Linked DNA regions of Homo sapiens: all the other regions are linked to region 3. Evidence: promoter capture Hi-C in human tissues and cell types (Jung and others, 2019). All regions are on one chromosome and are shown on one strand. Each heading gives the region's core, a stretch centred on a gene start or on the middle of the fragment in contact. The rest is flanking DNA. Distances are from core to core; before and after follow the strand shown.

The links. The method cuts DNA at HindIII sites, captures the fragments that hold promoters and counts their contacts. A contact is called where the count stands out against the background at its distance.
Region 1: a fragment that was not itself captured here is called in contact with the fragment with the promoter of MEX3D in region 3 in 3 of the 25 tissues and cell types used here (lymphoblastoid cells, mesenchymal stem cells and spleen).
Region 2: a contact is called between a fragment that was not itself captured here and the fragment with the promoter of MEX3D in region 3, in 3 of the 25 tissues and cell types used here (adrenal gland, dorsolateral prefrontal cortex and spleen).

Annotation. Positions count from the first base shown.
Region 1 is chr19:1,790,018-1,793,515 of GRCh38, reverse strand. It overlaps ATP8B3 (ATPase phospholipid transporting 8B3), which reads left to right. Exons shown (of 29, transcript NM_138813.4): 19 at 1,381-1,515; 20 at 1,655-1,766; 21 at 2,684-2,759. Among named protein-coding and RNA genes, the nearest start is that of ATP8B3, 21 kb to the left of the region's middle. RefSeq lists an enhancer at 3,398-3,498. The HindIII fragment of the contact is 6,480 bases long and covers 1-3,498 here.
Region 2 is chr19:1,721,285-1,724,596 of GRCh38, reverse strand. No RefSeq gene overlaps it. Among named protein-coding and RNA genes, the nearest start is that of ONECUT3, 31 kb to the left of the region's middle. RefSeq lists a silencer at 1,419-1,608. The HindIII fragment of the contact is 4,546 bases long and covers 1-3,312 here.
Region 3 is chr19:1,567,030-1,570,254 of GRCh38, reverse strand. MEX3D (mex-3 RNA binding family member D) reads left to right here and starts at 1,930. Exons shown (of 2, transcript NM_203304.4): 1 at 1,930-2,791. The coding sequence starts at 2,197. RefSeq lists silencers at 1,651-1,700, 1,741-1,930. The HindIII fragment of the contact is 18,806 bases long and covers 1-3,225 here.

The DNA of each region.
Region 1 (3,498 bases), core at 734-3,233, 220 kb before region 3:
CAAAGTTGAGGGGTCAGAGGGAGGGGCCTGGGACTGGGGGAGCCCCAGCTGGGGAAGGCACCGGGTGGGTGGACTGCATAGAAGGTCTTGAGTGATAGTCAGAATTCGCCATGCAGGCCAGGTGTGGTGGCTTCTGCCTGTAATCTCAGCGTTTTGAGGCTCAGGTGTGCAGCTTGCTTGAGCTCTGGAGTTCGAGACCAGCCCAGGCAACATGGTGAAACCACCTCTATTTAAAAAATATATATATATACAAAGAAATTAGCCGGGTGTGATGGCATGTGCCTATGATCCCAGCTATTTGGAAGGTAGAGACAGGAGAATCACTTGAGCCCAGGAGTTCGAGGCTGCAGTGAGCTATGATTGGGCCACTGCACTCCAGCCTGGGTGACAAAGTGAGACCCTATCCCCCACCCCCGAGAAAAAAAAAAAAAAAGAATTTGCTGTGCAAAGCATAGGGAAGGTGTTCCTGGCAGGGAAACAGTCCTCCAAGAAGGTCTGGAGGCAAAAGAGAGCTGAGGGTCTGGGGGTGGGAGCAGGTGTCTGAGACAGAGTAGGTGGGGAGCAGGGGCAGCTCAGTTTTCTTTTCTTTTTTTTTTTTTTTGAAACAGAATCTTGCTCTGATACTCAGGCTGGAGTGCGATAGGGCGATCTCAGCTCACTGCAACCTCGGCCTCCCAGGTTCGAGGGATCCTCCCACCTCAGCCTCCTGAGTAGCTGGGATTCCAGGCATGCGCCACCACACCTGGCTAATTTTTTATGTGTTTCGAGTGGAGACGCGGTTTCACCGTATTGGTTAAGCTGGTCTCAAACTCCTGGCCTCAAGTGATCCGCCTGCCTCGGCCTCCCAAAGTGCTGGGATTACAGGTGTGAGCCACCACGCCCAGCCCTCTTCCCCGCTTTCTTTCTATTGTTTTTTCTATTTTTTTTTTTTTTTTTGAGATGGAGTCTCACTTTGTCGCCCAGGCTGGAGTGCAGTGGTGTGATCTCAGCTCGCTGCAACCTCCGCCTCCCAAGTTCAAGCAATTCTCCTGCCTCAGCCTCTCAAGTAGCTGGGACTACAGGCACCCACCACCATGCCTGGCTAATCTTTGTATTTTGGGTAGAGACAGGGTTTCACCATGTTGGCCAACCTGGTCTCAAACTCCTGGCCTCAAATGATCCGCCTGCCTCAGCCTCCCAAAGTGCTGGGATTGCAGGCGTGAGCCACCGTACCCGGCCTCAGACCAGTTTTCTGAATCCCTTCTGGCTGCTGTTGGCTGGGGAGGCAACAGGCTTTTGGTTGGGGGACCCAGGCTCCGGAGCCCGGCAGGGGGTTGGGGAGGGCTGAGCCTCGGATGTCGGCTTCAGCATGGTGACAGCTTCCACCTGCCCGGCCCCCAGGCCTTTGCCCAGGAGACCCTGCGGACACTGTGCCTGGCCTACAGGGAGGTGGCTGAGGACATTTACGAGGACTGGCAGCAGCGCCACCAGGAGGCCAGCCTCCTGCTGCAGAACCGGGCACAGGCCCTGCAACAGGTGTACAACGAGATGGAGCAGGACCTCAGGGTGGGTGGGCAGCGGGGGCACCCAAGGGGGCCCTGGGACTCTCCTGCCCCCGCCAGGGAGCTGGACGGCTGCTCAGCATCTTCCCCGCCCTGCCCTCCTCCCCCACCAGCTGCTGGGAGCCACAGCCATCGAGGACAGACTCCAGGACGGTGTCCCTGAAACCATCAAATGTCTCAAGAAGAGCAACATCAAAATATGGGTGCTCACCGGGGACAAGCAGGGTGAGTCCCGGGCAGCTCCGGGTGGCTAAGCCCCTGCAGCATGGGTCTTCAAACTTCCCTGAAGTTTGAAGGCTCACACCTGTCATCCCAGCACTTTGGGAGGCCGAGGCGGGCGGATCACTTGAGGTCAGAAGTTCGAGACCAGCAGGGCCAACATGGTCAAACCCCGTCTCTGCTAAAAATACAAAAATGGGCCTGGCCAGGTGTGGTGGTGCGCATCTGTAATCCCAGCTACTCAGGAGGCTGAGGCAGGAGAATCGCTTGAACCTGGGAGGCAGAGGTTGCAGTGAGCCAAGATCGCACCATTGCACTCCAGCCTGGGCGACAGAGCGAGACTCTGTCTCAAAAAAAAAAAAAAAATGCTGCAACTCTCAGAGGAGCGCAGTGGCACATGCTTGTGGTCTCAGCTACTCCAGAGAAACGAGGCAGGAGGCTCGCTTATGCCCAGGAGGTTGAGGCTGCAGTGAGCCGTGATTGCGCCACTGCCCTCCAGCCTGGGTGACAGAGTGAGCCCTTGTCAAAAAAAAAAAAAGTGATTTTCAGGGTGCCCTCTGTCGGCCAGGAGCCAGCCCAGGGAAACATATTCAATTATTTCCCTTCTGATTTAAAAAGATATTGAGACATTTTGTGGGTTCCTGAAGGCACTGTGGATCCTAGGCACATGTGCCTGCTGATCCTGGCCTCAGACACATCTCTGGGCAGCCCAGTCCCGGCCAGAACTACAGCCAAAATCTCAGGGCTGGCTCTCATTGGTGAGCCTGGGTTACAAGCCCTTCTCTGAACCAATCACCATGGCCAGGGGGTGGGGCATGTGGCTGCCATTGGTCGGGCCAGGATTCACCGGGCAGAGTGGGCGTGGCCCCCAGGCAGCCAGTGCGGGGCGGGTCGCAGAGGCGCTGAGCTGGTCTGCTTCGCAGAAACGGCTGTGAACATCGGCTTCGCCTGCGAGCTGCTGTCAGAGAATATGCTCATTCTGGAGGAGAAGGAGATTAGGTAAGAAGTGGGGAGTTGGGGGGTGAGCAAGGGGAGTGGGGAGGTGAGGACAAGGAGCACCCAGGTGCGTGTCTCACTGGACGGGGAGCCCAAGGCACAGTGGGAAGGGGGGGATTGAGAGGGGAGGGAAGGGTAGGAGGAAGGAGTGTGGTAATGGGGAGTGGAGGGAGCTTGGAGGGAAGGGGGAGGGGCAGTGGAGGGAGAAGGGGAGAGGCAGAGGAGGGGGAGGAGCAGAGGAGGGAGGGGGAAGAGGGAGGGAAGGTGAGGGCAGGGGGAGGGGCAGGGGTGGCGAAGTGGGCAGTGGAGGGAGAGGGTAGGGGAGAGGGAAGGGAGGGGAGGGGAGAGGGGAGGGGAGAGGGAAGGGAGGGGAGGGGGAGGTGCAGGGGTGAGGGAGTGGGCAGTGGAGGGGAAGGATGGGGGCAGTGGGGAGGAGGGGAGGGGCAGTGGAGGGAGGGGGAGGGGAGAGGGAGGGGAGGGGGGAGCAGCGGAGGGGAGTGGGCGGTGGAGGGGGAGGGGAGGAGAGAGGAGGCAGAGGGGAGGAGAGAGGGAAGGGGGAGGGGCAGGGGTGGGGGAGTGGGCAGTGGAGGGGAAGGGGAGGGGCAGCGGCGGGAGGAGGAGGAAAGGGGAGGGGAAGAGGGAAGTGGGGAGGAGAAGGGGCAGGGGTGGGGGAGTGGGCAGTGGAAGGGGTGGGAGGGGCAGTGGAGCCCCCGGGGAAGTGGGGAGAAGCCCGCCCCCTCCC
Region 2 (3,312 bases), core at 241-2,740, 150 kb before region 3:
CTCCCAAGTAGCTGGGATTGTAGGCATGCACCACCACACCTGGTTAATTTTGTATTTTTAGTAGAGATGGGGTTTCACCATGTTGGTCAGGCTGGTCTTGAACTCCTGACCTCAGGTGATCCGCCCACCTCGGCCTCTCAAAGTGTTGGGATTACAGGCATGAGCTACCTGCCTGGCCATGGTCCCATTACTTTGGAAGGCTGAGGCAGGAGGATCTCTTGAGCCCAGGAGTTGGAGGCTTCAGTGAACTATGATTGCATCACTGCACTCCAGCCTGGGTGACAGAGCAAGACCCTCTCTCTCTCTCTCTCTCTTTTTTTTTTTTTTTTTTTTTTGAGACAGGGCTTTGCTCTTGTTGCCCAGGCTGCAGTACAATGGCACCATCTTGGCTCACTGCAACCTCCGTCTCCTGGGTTCAAGCAATCCTCCTGCCTCAGCCTCCCGAGTAGCTGGGATTACAGGCATGCGCCACCACGCCTGGCTACTTTTGTATTTTTTGTAGAGACGGGGTTTCACCGTGTTGATCAGGCTGGTCTCGAACTCCTGGCCTCAGGTGATCCACTCGCCTCGGCCTCCCGAAGTGCTGGGATTCCAGGCGTAAGCCACTGCGCCCGGCCAACCCGGTCTCTTAAAAAAACAACAGACAGGGGTTTTACCAAAATGGGCTCACCTGACCTCTGACTCTCATGTGGTCTGTGTCTTTCCTGTTATCTCACGGGCATCTTCCCGTGTCATTTAAATGTCTCCTCCCCCATCACCTTTGATGACCACCCAGCATTCCACCCAAGGAGGAGGCCACCGCTGTTTCTCAGTCCCCTTCGCTTGGGTAGCAAAGCTATGCCCAGTACGTTTTGTTCCGGAACACAGCAGAAGAGCAGCATCGGGCAAGGGTAACACATTGAAATAAGCGGAGGATGGGCACGTGAATAATAAAGGCCCCCCCAGCACGTACACCTGAATGAAAAAGCATCTAGAATTTCTGACCCCTCCATCCCCTCCTGTCTCTGTGGATGGGCCTTTCCTGGGCATTTCATAGAAACAGGATCACACACTGTGTGTCCTTTTGTGTCTGGCGTCTCTCACTGAGCGTGACGTCCTCAAGGTGCATCTATGCTGTGGTCTGGGTCAGAACTTCATCCCTTTCTGAAAAATTTTGTTTTATTTTATTTTATTTTATTTCTTGAGACAAAGTCTTGCTGTGTCACATAGGCTGGAGTGCAGTGGCACAATCTCAGCTCACTGCAACCTCCGTTTCCCAGGTTCAAGCAATTCTCCTGCCTCAGCCTCCTGAGTAGCTTAGATTACAGGCGCACGCCACCACGCCAGGCTAATTTTTGTACTTTTAGTAGAGATGGGATTTCACCATGTTGGTCAGGCTGGTCTCAAACTCCTGACCTCAGGTGATCCACCCATCTCGGCCCCCCAGAGTGCGGGGATTACAGACGAGAGCCACCACGCCTGGCCCAAAATTTTTTAAACGGTGTTAAAACATATATAAATAAAGTTTCCCATCTCAAGCTTTTTTTTTTTTTTTTTTCTGAGACAGAGTCTCACTTTGTTGCCCAGGCTGGAGTGCAGTGGCACGATCTTGGCTCACTGCAACCTCTGCCTCCCGGGTTCAAGCCATGCTCCTGCCTCAGCCTTCCAAAGTGCTAGGATTACAGGTGCCACCACGTTCGGCTAATTTTTGTATGTTCCGTAGAGACAGGCTCTCGCCACGTTGCCTAGGCCGATCTCAAACCCCTGGGTTCAAGCCATCCTCCCAACTTAGCCTCCCAAAGCACTGGGATTACAGACATGAGCCACCATGCCCAGCCCCCATGTTACTTTCTATCTCTGGATCTGATGACTCTAGGGCACTTTCATGCGTGGAGTGACACAGGATTTGTCCTTCTGTGTCTGGCATCTCTCACTGAGTGTGATGTCCTCAAGCTTCATCCATGCTGTGGCCTGGGTCAGAGCCTCATTCCTTTTTGTGGCTGAGTTGTGTGGATCCATCCTTCTGGTGATGGACGCTTGGGCACCTCCACCCATTGGCTAGTGCAGCAGCTACATCTCTGAACCTGGATGCACCTCAGTGTCTTCTGACATCTTCAATTTCCATCAAGTAGATCCTGGGGCAGGCCCCATATGGGGTCAAGCATCACCCGTCCCACCTCACATGGGGCTGAGCCTCAAGATGCCAATGGGGCCAGGCATGGTGGTTCACACCTGTAATCCCAGCCCTTTGGGAGGCTAAGGCGGGCGGATCACTTGAGATCAGGAGTTCGAGACCAGCTTGGCCAACATGGCAAAACCCCATCTCTACTAAAAATACAAAAAAAAAAAAAAAATTAGCCCGGCATGGTGGTGGATACCTGTAATCCCAGCTACTCAGGAGCCTGAGGCAGGAGAATCACTTGAACCCGAGAGGCAGAGGCTGCAGAGCTCTCCAGACTAGGCAACAGAGCAAGACTCTGTCTCAAAAAAAAAAAGATGCCAATGAGAGGGGCAATGCCAGGACTCATAAGACAGACTCATAAGAAGGACACACCTGAATTTGCCTCCCTGTGTCATGGGACCCCAGGCAGGTGGCTTCACCTCTCTGAGCTTTGGTCTTCTCCTGTGTGAGCAGGGGTGGTTGTGAGGATTAAACGAGCCTGGGCAAGGCATCGGAACTTAGATGCCTCAAGATTTTCAGGACATGACTGGGCATGGTGGCTCACGCCTGTAATCCCAGCACTTGGGGAGGCCAAGGCGGGTGGATCACCTGAGGTCAGGAGTCTGAGACCAGCCTGGCCAACGTGGTGAAACCCCGTCTCTACTAAAAATACAAAAATTAGCCGGGCTTGGTGGCGGATGCCTGTAGTCCCAGCTATTCAGGAGGCTGAGGCAGGAGAATTGCTTGAACCCAGGAGGTGGAGGTTGCAGTGAGCTGAGATCGCGCCACTATACTCCAGCCTGGGCAACAGAGCGAGACTCCGTCTCAAAAAAAAAAAATTTCAAGACATGCTGGGTGAGTGGGGATGACGCGTCTGTGATGAGCAGGCCACAGGCTGTCAGGGTGCAGGACCGAGAGCTTCCCCATGCCCCCGGCCTCTATGCCCTTGTGCCATCCTGGGTGCAGGAAGTGTGGCACTGGTGACGGGAGGACAGGTTAAAGGGGTGTGGGGGACGGTCTTTGCTTGAATCCCACTGTGTGACCACGAGCAAGTCACTTCCCTGGTCTGTGCCTCGGTTTCCCTATCTGTAAAATGGAGCTGGTGAGGTCATTGGCTTCCAAAGCCTCAGCACGGTGCCTTCCCAGTGCTGAGAACGTCCTCCATGGGTGAT
Region 3 (3,225 bases), core at 681-3,180:
AAATAAAGGATGAAAGAAAAGGAAGGAAGCAAGGAAGGAAGGAGAAGAAAGAAAAGAAAGAAGGAAAGAAAGACAGAAAAAAGAAAAGGAAGAGAAAGAAAAAAAGGAAAGAAAGAAAAGGAAAAGAAAAAAGAGAAAGAAAGGAAAGAGAAAGAAAGAAAAAGAAAAGAAAGAAAGGAAGAAAGAAAGAAAAAAAGGAAAGAAAGAGAAAAAAAGAAAGAGAGAAAGAAAGAGAGATAGAAAAACAATTCCAAGCATGGGCGTGCACGAAAGAGAAGTCCAGGACCCCAGGAGGGGAAGTGGGGCTGGATGCAGCCTGGGGTCAGGAGAGAGATTTTGGGTGGGGAAGGGCTCCAGGCAGGGGGATCCTGACCCTGCCTGCCTGGAAGAAGTGGGCAGAGAAGCCACCAAAAGTGAAGGGCCCAGCAGTGGGTGGCTGTGGCTGAGGGACTAGAAGAGTGGCTGAGGGGGACCCAGGGTGTGTGAGGCGGGGGGAGGGGACAGAGGAGAAGCCTTGCTAGGCAAAGGGGCAGGCTGCCCCACTCCTGCCCAGAGAGCCCTGCCTTCGGTCCAAGTTTGCACAGCCAGCCAGGGACAGGTCTGGTAGAAGAGGGGGGCAGGTAGACCCAGCCAGACAGGTTTATCACAAAAAACCCCACAGGTGCAAGGAAGGCCCCGAAGGACAGCTGGAGGAAGAGCCGCTGGGAAAGCGGCTATTTTTTTTTTTTTTTTTTTTTTTTGAGAGGAGTCTTGCTCTGTCAACCAGGCTGGAGTGCAGTGGTGCAATCTCGACTCACTGCAACCACCACCTCCAGGGTTCAAGCAATTATCCTGCCTCAGCTTCCTGAGTAGCTGGGATTACAGGTGCGCGCCACCACGCCTGGCTAATTTTTGTATTTTTAGTAGAGTCGGGGGTTTCACCATGTTGGCCAGGCTGGTCTCTAACTCCTGACCTCGTGATCCACCCGCCTCGGCCTCCCAAACTGCTGGGATGACAGGCATGAGCCACCGCGCCCGGCAAGGGTGGCTTTAGAGGTGGACAACGCCCGTTGCGGGGAAAGGCACCCCAGAAGAGGGTGGGGCTCCACATGGAGGGTTCTGGCTGGTGTGAGCCTGCCCTCGCCATGGAAGCACCACTGTGGTAGAGAGGTCTCTGGCTGGGGGCACAGAGACCGGGTCTGTGGCCTTGGGTGGGGCGGAGGAGGTGGCGTGGAGGAGGTGGCCTGATCCCAAAGCCGGGAGCCAGCCAGAGGGGAGCTAGGAGAGACTAGGGGAGAGGGACCTCAGGCCCTGGGGTGTGCATGATTGTGGAGCTGTCCCTGGCACAGAGGCTGGGGGTGGGGCAGGGGCCTGACCCTAAAGCCCACCTGATAGCAAGGGGTACTTGGGGACTGGGACCCCAGGCCCTGGGGGGTGCACCGTGGGGCGGGGGTTGGACCCTGGCACAGAGGCGGTGGGCGGGCAGGAGCCTGACTTCGAAGTCCAGTGGGATCGCGAGGGGGACTTGGAGAGGACCCCACGCCTTTATGCAGGGAGGTGGGGGTCCCTGGCACAAGGAAGCGGGCGTGGAGCAAGAGACCTCGCTTGGGGGCGACCCGGATCTCTAGGGGAAATTGGGGAGCGGGACCTCGGGCCCTGGGGCGCGCGAGGCAGGGACTCTCAGGCTTGGGGAGGGAGCGCTGTCCAGGCAGGGGCTGAGCCGCACACACCTGCAGCAGCGCCCGCACGTGCGGATGCGCCCGGGTTCCCGCCCGAGCGCCGGGCGGAGGCGGGGCCTGGACCACGTGCCCGGCGCCGGCCCCGCCCCGGCCCCGCCCCGCGCGCCTGCGCCCTGGGGGCCGCCCATTGTTGGGCCGCGGCGTGACGTCGCGGGGGCGGGGCCGGGGCGGGGCCGCGGGAGGCGGCGGGAGGGAAGGAGCGTCCCGCGCCGCCGCCGCCGCCTCGGCCGCCGAGGAGCCGCCGCCGCCGTCGCCGCCGCCGCCGAGCCGCAGCCAGAGTCGCTGCCGCCGCCCGGCCCGGCCCGGCCCGGCCCCGAGCAGCCCCGCGCCGCCGCCGCCCCGCCCGCCCGGCCCCCCGTGCCCGCCCCCGCCGCTGGATGCAGGCGGCCGGCGGCCCAGCTCGCAGAGGCGGAGGGCGGCGCGGGCGGCGGCGGCGGCGCGGGCGGCAGGAGCGCGGGCCCCAGCGCTAGCTCCCGCCATGCCCAGCTCGCTCGGCCAGCCCGACGGCGGCGGGGGCGGGGGCGGCGGCGGCGGCGGCGTGGGGGCGGCGGGGGAGGACCCCGGACCCGGACCTGCGCCCCCGCCCGAGGGCGCCCAGGAGGCCGCGCCCGCGCCCCGGCCGCCGCCCGAACCCGACGACGCGGCCGCCGCGCTCCGCCTGGCGCTGGACCAGCTGTCGGCGCTCGGGCTGGGGGGCGCTGGCGACACGGACGAGGAGGGGGCGGCCGGGGACGGCGCAGCGGCGGCGGGGGGCGCGGACGGCGGGGCGGCTCCGGAGCCTGTGCCCCCCGACGGACCTGAGGCCGGCGCGCCCCCGACCCTGGCCCCCGCCGTGGCCCCCGGGTCGCTGCCGCTGCTGGACCCCAACGCGAGTCCCCCGCCGCCGCCGCCGCCCCGGCCGTCGCCCCCCGACGTGTTCGCGGGCTTCGCGCCCCACCCCGCGGCCCTGGGGCCCCCGACGCTGCTGGCCGACCAGATGAGCGTGATCGGCAGCCGCAAGAAAAGCGTCAACATGACCGAGTGCGTCCCGGTGCCCAGCTCCGAGCACGTCGCCGAGATCGTGGGTCGCCAGGGTGAGTGGCCCTCGTCGGGGGTTGCTGTCCTGGGGGTCCCCGCACCGTCCGCCCCGGGGAAGGGGGTCGCCCGAGCCCAGCCCAGCCCGCGCCGGACGCCCCGCACCGGACACGCCCCGCGTGGGCTCCGGCCTCGGCCGCTGCCTTTGCGCCTTTGTCCTGCAGCCGCCGCGGGAGAAAGTTGGGCGCAGCCCGCGCTCCTCCCCTGCGCGCTCCGGCCCCGCCGCCGCCTTTGTCTGGGCCGCCTCCAGCCCGGAAAGGCTCCGGGGAGCCGCGCCGCAGCCCAGGCCCTCGGCCGCCCGCAGGGGCACCCCAGAGAGGGGCTCGAGGGCCCGGGGCTCCGGCCGGGCGGGGGGCGCCCCACACCCAGCACAGGCGGCGGGGCGGGGCAAGCGCAGGTTTAGGGGTGGCTTAGGGGGGCCGCCTGCAGGACC